Regions from separate parts of the Homo sapiens genome. Here region 1 is linked to region 2. Evidence: promoter capture Hi-C in 16 types of primary human blood cells and fetal thymus (Javierre and others, 2016). All regions are on one chromosome and are shown on one strand. Each heading gives the region's core, a stretch centred on a gene start or on the middle of the fragment in contact. The rest is flanking DNA. Distances are from core to core; before and after follow the strand shown. Region 1 holds the start of FBXO7 (F-box protein 7). Region 2 holds the start of HMGXB4 (HMG-box containing 4).

Evidence for each region. The method cuts DNA at HindIII sites, captures the fragments that hold promoters and counts their contacts. A CHiCAGO score of 5 or more calls a contact.
Region 1: the fragment with the promoter of FBXO7 here is called in contact with the fragment with the promoter of HMGXB4 in region 2 in 1 of 17 cell types (total B cells); the score reaches 8.4 in total B cells.

The regions. Positions count from the first base shown.
Region 1 is chr22:32,472,818-32,478,278 of GRCh38, forward strand. FBXO7 (F-box protein 7) reads left to right here and starts at 1,994. Exons shown (of 9, transcript NM_012179.4): 1 at 1,994-2,307. The coding sequence starts at 2,186. RefSeq lists enhancers at 969-1,028, 1,754-2,254, 1,917-2,086, 2,255-2,755, 2,341-2,510 and silencers at 2,075-2,264, 2,275-2,584. The HindIII fragment of the contact is 4,456 bases long and covers 1-3,705 here.
Region 2 is chr22:35,254,837-35,259,773 of GRCh38, forward strand. It overlaps HMGXB4 (HMG-box containing 4), which reads left to right and starts at 2,657. Exons shown (of 11, transcript NM_001003681.3): 1 at 2,657-2,721. It overlaps LOC105373017 (a long non-coding RNA gene), which reads right to left. Exons shown (of 4, transcript XR_938210.3): 1 at 3,352-4,937; 2 at 2,377-2,425. RefSeq lists an enhancer at 1,951-2,451 and a silencer at 2,717-3,216. The HindIII fragment of the contact is 10,131 bases long and covers 2,477-4,937 here.

The DNA of each region.
Region 1 (5,461 bases), core at 744-3,243, 2.8 Mb before region 2:
AGACCATCCTGGCTAACACGGTGAAACCCCATCTCCACTAAAATAATAATAAAATAATAATAATAATAATAATAATAATAATAATAATAATAATACAAAAATTAGCCAGGTGTGGTGGCGGGTGCCTGTAGTCCCAGCTACTCGGGAGGCTGAGGCAGGAGAATGGCGTGAACCCAGGAGGCGGAGCTTGCAGTGAGCCGAGATCACGCCACTGCACTCCAGCCTGGGCGACAGAGCGCGACTCCATCTCAAACAACAACAACAACAAAAAAAAACAAAAACAAACAAAAAACCAGACACAGCAGTAAAGTGGACACATCAGGTTATATATGACCCTGTCTCCTTTGTTCGGTGTACTCTCGTGACAAAACTGCTGGCGAGTATACCCTTTCTACAAAAAATAAAAATGGCCTTGCTAAAAAAATTAAATTTATATTCAAGTGCTATTTCTTTACAACATCAAAAAACAAACATTTCTAACAATCCCATTCCTCAGGTCTGTATTTATGTCTATCATAAAGCAGAGACTTTTTACACTCTACTGAAAGAGCTGATTCACTCAACTGTAAACTTTGCATGGGCAGAAACATGTCTTTTTGGTCTCTTGAGTCTCCAGCATGTGGGGTATCTGTCACAAAGTAGGCAATCAATACATATTTATTTGCAGAATCAAGGGCAGGATGTGGACAAGTGCTGCCACCTATTGGGAGAAACTTTATTTGACTCTAAGGATTTGGACTATGGTTATCACACAAGGACGAAACTTGATACTCTCTCTCATCTAAGTTATCATTAGTTAGACCCTCTATGGTAGCCAGCCTCCAGGATGGCCCGCAGCGATCCCTGTCTGTTGGCATTCATACCTTTGGCTGGATCCTCTCACACATAGGGTTGGTTTGTAAATATGACAAAAGCCGTATGTGACCTCTGGAGCTAGGTCATAAAAGACATTGTGGCTTATACCTTGGTCTCTCTGGGATCACCTGCTCTGAAGGAAGCCAGCTGCCATGTCATGGGGACACTCAAACAGCCCTATGGGGAGGTTCACGTGGTGAAAACAGGTCTCTGGCCAACAGTCATGACTGTGCCATCCTGGAGGCCGATCCTCCAGCCCTAGTCAATAACTGCTGCCCTGGCCTACAGTTTGTAATCTCATGGGAGACCTGGAGACAGAACCACCCAGCCACGCATCCCCAAATCCCTTTACCTCTAAAACCTGTGGGACAACAAATGTTTATTGCGTTAAACTTTGGGGTGATTGTTATGCAGCCACAGAGTTCTAATAAACTGTCGGACATAGATTACTGGCTACAAATAGTTCTACTTTTTTTTTGAGACAGGGTCTCGTTCTGTGGAACCAGGCTGAGGTGCAGTGGTGCGATCACAGCTCATTGAGGCCTCGACCTCCGGGCTCAATCGACCCTCCCGCCTCAGCCACCCAACTAGCTGGGACTACAGGCAGGCGCCACCACACCTAATTTTTTGTATTTTTTGTAGAGATGGGGGGGGGGGTTTCACCATGTTGCCCAGGCTGGTCTCGAACTCCTGGGCTCAAACGATCCACCCGCCTCGGCCTCCCAAAGTGCTGGGATTACAGGCGTGAGCCACCGCGCCCGGCCAACCTAAGGATTAACCTAAGGCTTCTCAGAGCAGATGCCGCTGGAACTGAGGGCCACGGAAGAAAGGGGGTGACACTTGGTCCTGGGGAGTGGCGACTGTATTGTCTGTCTGCAGCATCCCTATCAGCGCTACCGTTGTTCCACGCACACAGGGAGTAAGTACTGGGAGTCCCAGCCACCGCCGCGGAAAATCTGGGATGCCAGCGAGCGGCCGCATCTCGGCGCCTGCGCACTGTGCCCGCGCTCTCAGGCAGCGCCGTTGCGCGCGGAGTCATCGATCGGCCGACCCCGAGAGGCCCGGTTCCTTTAGGCCGCCTGCCCGCCTCCAGCTCTCGGGGTCGGCTCCAGGAGGCGCCCTCAGGAGAGGGGCGGGCGCTCTATTCCAGAGACCGAGTGGCAGGGCGGCCACTGTGGCGGGGCTCTTTCCCCGTTTCGCCTCAGCTACCCCTCAGCTCCGGTAGTCGCCAGTCCGGGGTCGTCGCCGTTTGGGGCGGGAGCTGCTCGGCCCCGCCGCCGTCCCCGTCGCCGCTTCCGGGTCCAGGCCCCTCGGGCCGCCTGCCGCCGTCATGAGGCTGCGGGTGCGGCTTCTGAAGCGGACCTGGCCGCTGGAGGTGCCCGAGACGGAGCCGACGCTGGGGCATTTGCGCTCGCACCTGAGGCAGTCCCTGCTGTGCACCTGGGGGTACAGGTACGCTGGGGCCGGGGCTGGGCGGCCCGCGGGGAGTGGGGAGTGCTTGGGGTGGGTGCAGGGCGGGTTGGCGTCATCTGTGGGCTGCAGGCGCGGGCGTGGCCGGGCGATAGGCCAAGTGCGGGGACGCCGGGGGGGCCTTCACGGGAGGCCCGGGCTCTTCCGGGCGTCGCGGAGCCGGAGGGTGCAGGCGACGGGAAGCGCGGGTGGTCGGCTGGGGTCCGGCTCCTGGAGAACATGGCCCGGCCTCCCGGGGGCTCTGGTCCCCTCCTCGGTGAGTCATGGCTTCTGGTTTTGCAGTAAACGGAACCAGGGAGAGGAGGGAACGCACAATTTCCACAACTGGTTAGATTTCAAGTTGGAAATGATGAGCTTGGCTTGGGTTAAACCTTTCTGGACTGTGAGGGGTCCGAGTTAATTTCTTCAGCTGTTGGAGTATTTCAATGAAAAAGTTTGGAAATTGCTAGAAGTTAAAAATCTGCCCTCAATCCGAGGCCACCGGTAGCTTGTATCGCTGCTGTGAAGCGGCAACAATTTTAGATTCTGTTGTGTTCATGCGCCGAGCACCGCGGTGAGCGCTTGGACTTCGCCGCCGAAAAGTTTTAGAAAGGACAGCGTGTAGGCGTGTTTCAGACCATTTCATTTTCTTGGGTGAAATGTTGCTTTTTTGCTAAAACTGAGGCAAACGTTGATCTTGAGAGCTTGCAGTTTGGGGGCAGTAAAGTTGAGAAAGGATCATATTCTGTTATTGGTTTGTGGGACTGCAGGTGAAGCTGCTTTGTTTCCCTAAAAGATACTTTTTGGGGACAATAATTTGGGAGTAAAGCGGCAAGGTAAGAGTGGTCCTCTTCAAATACTGAGCTAGTGAATTTGAAACTTGAGTGTGCTAAGGAAAAATGAAAAAGATGTTCCCTGGGGATTTTTAGGTGAATTCTTCAAAACAAAAGCAAACCTTCCTACGTTTTCACCTTATTTTTAGGGAATTGGGTAAAATGAGGCCGTTATTCTGAACTTCTCGCCCTTTCATTTTCCTGGTTAAGACATTATTAGATTGAAAGTAAGCCTGTTTTCTTCCTGATTAAAAAAAAAACCCTAAATAAGATACTGACATAACTCCTTTTAAACATTATAGTAAGTGACATGCCTACTGTTATTTCTTGTTGTTAAACCTGTGTGTTTTACATACTGGCATCGTTACCAGTAGGTTACGAGTAGAAGATTGAATAAATCTTCAAACTTATTTTTTAAAGGTATTACCAAGTATATATATATTTTATTATTTTTAAATTAGGCAGTCTTGAAAGGACGTGAAACTCAATATGACTGCCCAAAAGGGCACGTTGGTTTCTCTTTCAGATTTCTTTTTACAGTTGAGGCTGGTTACCTGGACAGAATTTAAGCTTCAGCTTGTGAAAGTAAACTCATTTTTTCTGAAAGTATACTCATTTTCTAATAAAGGTGCAGTTTTAAAATATGTCCATGTGATATTATTTTAAAAATATCTTTACTGAGCAAGTGGAGCTAGGATTGTCATGAAATGCTTTTATTTGTTTTGTTTTTGTTTTTTAAGAGAAAAGTGAAAGCAAGTTTATTAAGAAAGTAAAGGAATAAAAGAATGGCTACTCCATAGGCAGAGCTGCCATGAAATACTTCTAAGAAGGCTGGAGTTTCTAGAATTTCATTTCCTGGAATTAAATACTCCTCTTAACGCCCCAATTTCAGAGGTAGAATCCTGGAAAACTATATATTACTTTAGAAATAGCTTTTCCCTTTTTCTAAAGTGGGAGGAAGAGCTGGTATATTTATTAAGCGGACCATGACCTTTTCTGCAAACAGATACTTGAACGTACCTTGTACTAGATACTGTTTTAAAAAGCAACCTTTTGCTGTGACAAATGACCCATAAACACATAGTTCATTTGAGGTGTTTTTGCTTTTTCTGCCAAAGTTGGGGTGGTGTTTTTGTGGGCAAATGGCAGATTTTCAACGTTTTGTTTATCAAAGCATTTTGAAAAGAGAAGCAGGGCCACTTGTTTTCTAGCAAACAGGAATAGCTTCTATTTCAGTAATTTTAATTTCTCTACCAAGGACACTTCAATCAGTAAGAAAAAATATATTTACGAGTGAAATAAAAACAAGAATTATTTGGAGCACTTTTCAAAATGCAGCATTGTAAGAATAAGTAAACAATATAATTTTTAAAGGACTTCATCTTTTGTTAACCTCTCAAAAAAGTAATGAAATTAGCATTGCTGAGTGTAAATGTTTTTAAAAATGTTTTATAATGTTTTGTTATTGTTCCTCACCACTGTGTGATGAAAAACATTTTATTCTTCTAATGTCAAATAATCTGTGATGCAGAAAGAATGGGAGTTTGTTGCTTCCGGGCTTATTTGAATTCTGAGCTTGTTTAACGTGGGCTTTTGGGTTTGCGCTATGTTCCACTAAAAGGCATCATAACTGATGATCAGTAGAAGGGTGAATTTAGCTTGTCATCATCAGTAAGAGAGATGAATTTATACTCAGTCATATACATAATACTCCTCTAACTTTTTGTGATTATGAATATATGGATCTGGTTTTTCGGAACCATTATAAGTAAACTGTCCTGTAAGGATATTGAATAGACATCCTTGATTTCACGCTCATCTCTTGATCTTCCCAACTAGTGTTTGGTGGTTGCATTTATTTCACAAGTACTTTATTTGCCAGTGTTGAAGATATGGTTTGAACTGTTCAGACAAGATCGCTGATCTTATGAAACTTAAGTTGTAGTGGCAGAGGTAGGGTAGACAGATCATAGACAAGTAAATACGATGTTTTCAAGTAGAACATAACAGAATAGAGAGCGCTGGAGTCTGAATGAAAGGCATCTCTGAAGAGGTGACATTTGGGCTGAGACTGGAATGATGAAGAGGAGTCAGTCATTTGAAGATCTGGAAGAACAAACGGAGAGGCCCGAAGGCTGCAATGAAGTTGATCTGCTTTTTGGAACGGATGGAAAGCTCATGTGAATAGAGAACAGTGAGAGAGGATGGATGGCACAGGATGCAGTAGGAGAAATGGGAAGAGGTCAGACGTTGAGCTTTGGAAGTTAGGTTAAGGATTCCAAATAGAAGCTATTGGAAGATTTTAAGTGAAGGAATGATGTGAT
Region 2 (4,937 bases), core at 1,407-3,906:
TTCAGGTCTCCAGGAGCTTAAAATGAGCAAGAACTTGATATGCTCCATCTTCAGGTGGACTAAAAGAAGAAATGGGACCAATAGGACTCATAAGGCTTTTAGGTCCAAGCTAGTGGTAGAGTGTGGGGACAGCTACTGTTTTTGCCTACCTAACATGCACTCACCCTTCTGACAGCAACCCTTGATTTTCTTTGTGTCTACCCCAACCTAATTTTGGAGGTAAGCAGATGACCTAATTTAACCAATCAGCAGCAGCAGCAGACTCCACACCTTTACTCATAGTGATTGCTTTTTGTCTGGACACATGATCTAATTCAGGCAATAAGAATCAATCCCATGACTTTTGCCAAAGCAAAAGGGAAAAAGAAACTCCTTCCAGGGCCAGGCATGGTGGCTCACATCTGTAATCCCAGCACTCTGGGAGGCCAAGGCAGGAGGATTGCTTGAGTCCAGGAGCTTGAGACCAGCCTGGGCAACATGGTAAAAAAAAAACAACAAAAAAAACCCATCTCTACAAAAAATACAAAAAGTACCTGGGCATGGTGGCATGCACCTGTGGTCCCAGCTACTTGGGGGGCTGAGGTGGGAGGATTGCTTGAACTCAGGGGGTCGAAGCTGCAGTGAGCTGTGATCGTGCCACTGCACTCCAGCCTGGGTGACAGAGAAAGACCCTGTCTCAAAACAAACAAACAAAACCTCCCTCCACAGGGACACTGCTAGCAGGAAAGATGATGAAGCTTGGAGCTGCTGGAGTCATCACCTGAATCTGAGAATAAAGCTAACAGAGGAGAGCACCACAGACACGTCAAAGGACCAGCTTGAGTTACCTCCCTGGAAGTGACCATGTCTGCAGGTACTGGAAATTTCAATCATGTGAGCCAATAAATTCCCCTCTTCTGGGGAAACACATGGAAATGGGTTTCTGTCACAACTGAAATCATCCTGACCAATGGATTTAGGGCTCTGAAGAACAAAAAGGAAATACATCATTAGGGCTCTTAAATGCCTCAAAGGGAAGCCTAACGTCAGGCAGGGTGTCCCAGAAATGCAATCTAACACCTTTTGGTGAAACTCATTGCCTGTCTTTTTGGTGAGTAGGATGGGAGCTGCGGAGAAAAAGGCCATGCTACTTTTATTAAGTATTTGCAGTTACATTTTGCAAATGATTTCAGCAACTTTATCTCAGGTGTTTTAACATCTCAGCATCTCACAGTTGTAAGAAACAGAATCAATCTTCTACTCAGTGCAGAGGGGGAGAGAGCATGATATAGCAAAAAGAGCACTGAACCAGAGTCTAACAATCTGGCTTTTCATCTTTATCTGATCACTGATTAGAGTGTGGTCTCAGACAAATCACCTTGCTTTTATTGGTCTCATGACTACCTCGTCTTCAAGCACTCACCCAACTCTGCAATGGAAAATACACTAGGACAGAGGTTCTTAATTTTTTATGGGGCCTGGGCCCTAGGAAAACACACACTGCACACATGATTTTACGTTGCATGGGGTTCACAACTCTAGAAGCCAATCTACATCTCTAACTTCTCTGCTTTACAGTAACACCAGCTTCTGCTTGAGCGCTCCTCCAGTGGGAGGGAGCTCACTACTCACAAGGAAGCCCATTGTACTACTGAACTGTACTAGAAAAATAAGTTATTCTTCATATATATATATATTTTTTGAGATGGAGTCTCACTCTGTCCCCCAGGCTGGAGTGCAGTGGCGCAATCTCGGCTCACTGCAATCTCCGCCTCCCGGGTTCAAGCGATTCTCCTGCCTCAGCCTCCTAAGTAGCTGGGATTACAGGCACGCGCCACCACGCCTGGCTAATTTTTTGTATTTTTAGTAGAGACGGGGTTTCACCACATTGGTCAGGCTGGTCTCGAACTCCTGACCTCAGGTGATCCACCCACCTCAGCCTCCCAAAGTGCTGGGATTACAGGCGTGAGCCACCGCCCCTGGCGTTCTTCTTCATATCAAACCAAGTTCTATACACTGTAATTTCTACTCATTGGTCGAAGTTCTCAATGGCAAATCAGAAAAATTGTGTTCTCGCCTGTATATGACATCTCTTCCTCTCTCTCTCTGAAGACTGTTTCTAACTAAAAAATGTAGATGATTCGCCATGCAAATTATTTTACTGTACATTGTTACAAAGATAAGTTCTTCACCTCACCCCTAATATGCCAAATGTTCAAATGTAGATGCTGAAGTCCAAATAAGCACACTGCTATTAATCTGCATAGATCTAGGTGTTGCAAAGAGGAGAACTGCTGTATAACAATATCTTGAAAGAAACAGCATAGTATTTTGGGGAAAGCACTGCATTCAGAATCAGAAGACTTGGAGTAATACTCGGTCTCACATTCCAACTACCTGTGTATCCTTGGGCACGTCACTTAACTTCTCTCAGCCTGGTTCTCTTCTGCAAAATGCGACAGGAATACAGTGAGGATTAAGTGAAATAATGTTTGTAAGCTTCTAGGGCAAGGCTGGGACATAGCAAATTCTCAATAAATAAGTGCCAGCTCCCGCGCTCAGCAGGCTCCGAGTTTTATTCGATGCGCTCGGCGCTCTTGGTCGAGCGGGATTCCCCCTCCGGAGCCCGAGTCTGCGCTCTGGGCTCGACTGAGGCTCCCTGGCCGCTCGCGCTTTTCTCTCCTTCTCCAAGATGGCGGCGATCGGCGGCGTTGAGGCGGGATCCGGGCGAGCCGAGTGAAGGTAGCGGCGAGCGGAGACCCCAGGAGACCGGGCTGGGCCCCCACCCTGAGGCGGCAGCAGCCCCGCCCCGTCGCCACCCGCCGCCCTGGGCCCGCGACATCACCTCTGGGGTGCCCCAGGCCCTTCGCGGCCTAGCCCAGGGGCCGAGCCGGGGACTGGAGTAGCGGCCGCAGCCGCCCCCAGGAAGGGGCTGGAGCGGGCAGAAGGAGGAGGGCGGGCGGGAGCTGTTCAAACGGGGAAGGCGGGAAAGCTGCGGGGCCGGGAGGGGGCGTGCGGCCGCCCCGGGGGCCTGCGGACCCGGGCCGCCCCTCCCCCTGCCCGGGCCGTCTCCGCCCTCGGGGGCGCCGTGAGGCCGCCGGAGACGCGGGAACCCGGGTTCAGGTCGAGCTGTGCGGCTCGGAACCCGCGATGCGGGGGTCCCTCGGGCTGTCAGGGGGAAAGGGCTCGTGGCCGCGGCCACGGGAGGGCTGGGGCTGCGGCTGGCAGGAGAAAGTACGAGGAGCTTTCTTCTTTTCCTCTTCACAGAGCTTTGTTGAGCTAGCTGTTGCCGCAAAACTGCCGGGAGAATCCCACTGGTTTGCCTTGGGGACCACAAAAATGGTGGTCCTGGGGGCTGTTTGTGTAAATCACCTGGTATTTTGTGTGTTTCTTGCGTGCAACCCGGCTTGGCCGTGCCTTCGTGGTGGGCGCCTTCTCCATGCAGGCCCATTTTCCCTCCACCAACTACTACTTGTAGATTCACTTTATAGCGTGCAAAAGCGGAGAAACATCTCTGTCCCCTCTTTTGGAGGGCTAAGCTGGTGGCTGATTATATTTCCTCCTAATAGAACAAAGTAAAAAACTGAATCCCAAATAAAGCCTGTTGATTGGACAAGGCTTCTCAAAATTCGATTGCTGGTCTTATGGAATGTGTGTTGTCAGCCAATCTGTGCGGTGGTCGTGGTTCCGCTTAATTGCACTGCAATGAGAGGATTCAATCCCCATCCCCGACTGTCGGGATCTCTGCAGCTTCCAGAGCTGGCAGGGGCTGGGAGTGCTGCCTAGGTAGGTCCCTGGAGAAGGGAGTGGCAAGAGGATTCGGAGTCACCGTGTTCGGAGATTGGAAGAAACCTGGACGAAGTTGAGAAGGCATCACTTGTCTGTATCGTAGAAGTAACAAGAAAATTTCAGAAATTGGCAACCGGCGGATGTGCATCTTCCTTTACCTGCACTGACTGGCATTTTGAGTTCTTGAAAGGAGTGGTTGGAAGAAGAGAATGCAGAATCTTGGACATGGCTCTCATCCTGGAACAGACCTGGAGTTCAGAATTTCTCTTACTGTCCGTGTGACGGGGCTTACTTTGTTTCCTTTTTTTCGATACTCATTTACATTATGGGGTGAAGAAGGTTGTTGATTGCAGGAGCTCAAGTTACCTCAAAAAAAGTCTGAAACCTGTTTTTTAACTGTAATTTGAAGTTTCAAAATGACAAAGTGCTATATCTGAGGACTTTTTCCTCCTGATTACTTTGGTCATCCCAAAGGCCTATGCCTGAACATAACTTGTATGCTTATCTACCAGGGAAAGAGCAACTCTGCCCCCTCCTTTTTCATATCCTGAAGAAAAGTCCCCGAAGAGCTATTTAACAATTTGTGCATTTCATAAGTATACATTTTTATGGTACCAGTTTTTTACTTGTATCAACAGTATGAAATAGTGAACTTTTACTTATGTTGTCATATCTTAGCACACTGAGACAAACAAAATTATTCTTGCCTCTTGGAGTTGACAACATTGAATTTTATAAACTCCCAAATTATTGAATTGAGACTGGGTTTTAACACCTGTTTCACATTTGCCAACATTTAATGTAATTATGACCTCCCTTTTCTAATGTGAAAATCAAACCTAATATTCATTTTCATTAATCCTCACAATCTACTCTCTACCCCTGAACTCTGAATTTTCACAGATTGTATTCAAGACCTGGAAGGAATATCAGGGGTTCATCTGATCTTATATAAATGTTGCCTGAACTCTGCCTTTCTTTCACACTGTTGCTTGAGATTTATCTGGTATCTTTCCAAAACTAAACCCTGAGCTGCAATAATATCCTGATTTTAAAGAACGTAGAAATTCAGGGCCCATCGGTCTGCCCAAGCTGTGGCTGATACAGTCCGTTGTGTTTAATTTTAGTTTTTCAAGCTCTTGGCTGCCCCAGTTCTTCAGTGAATTGGA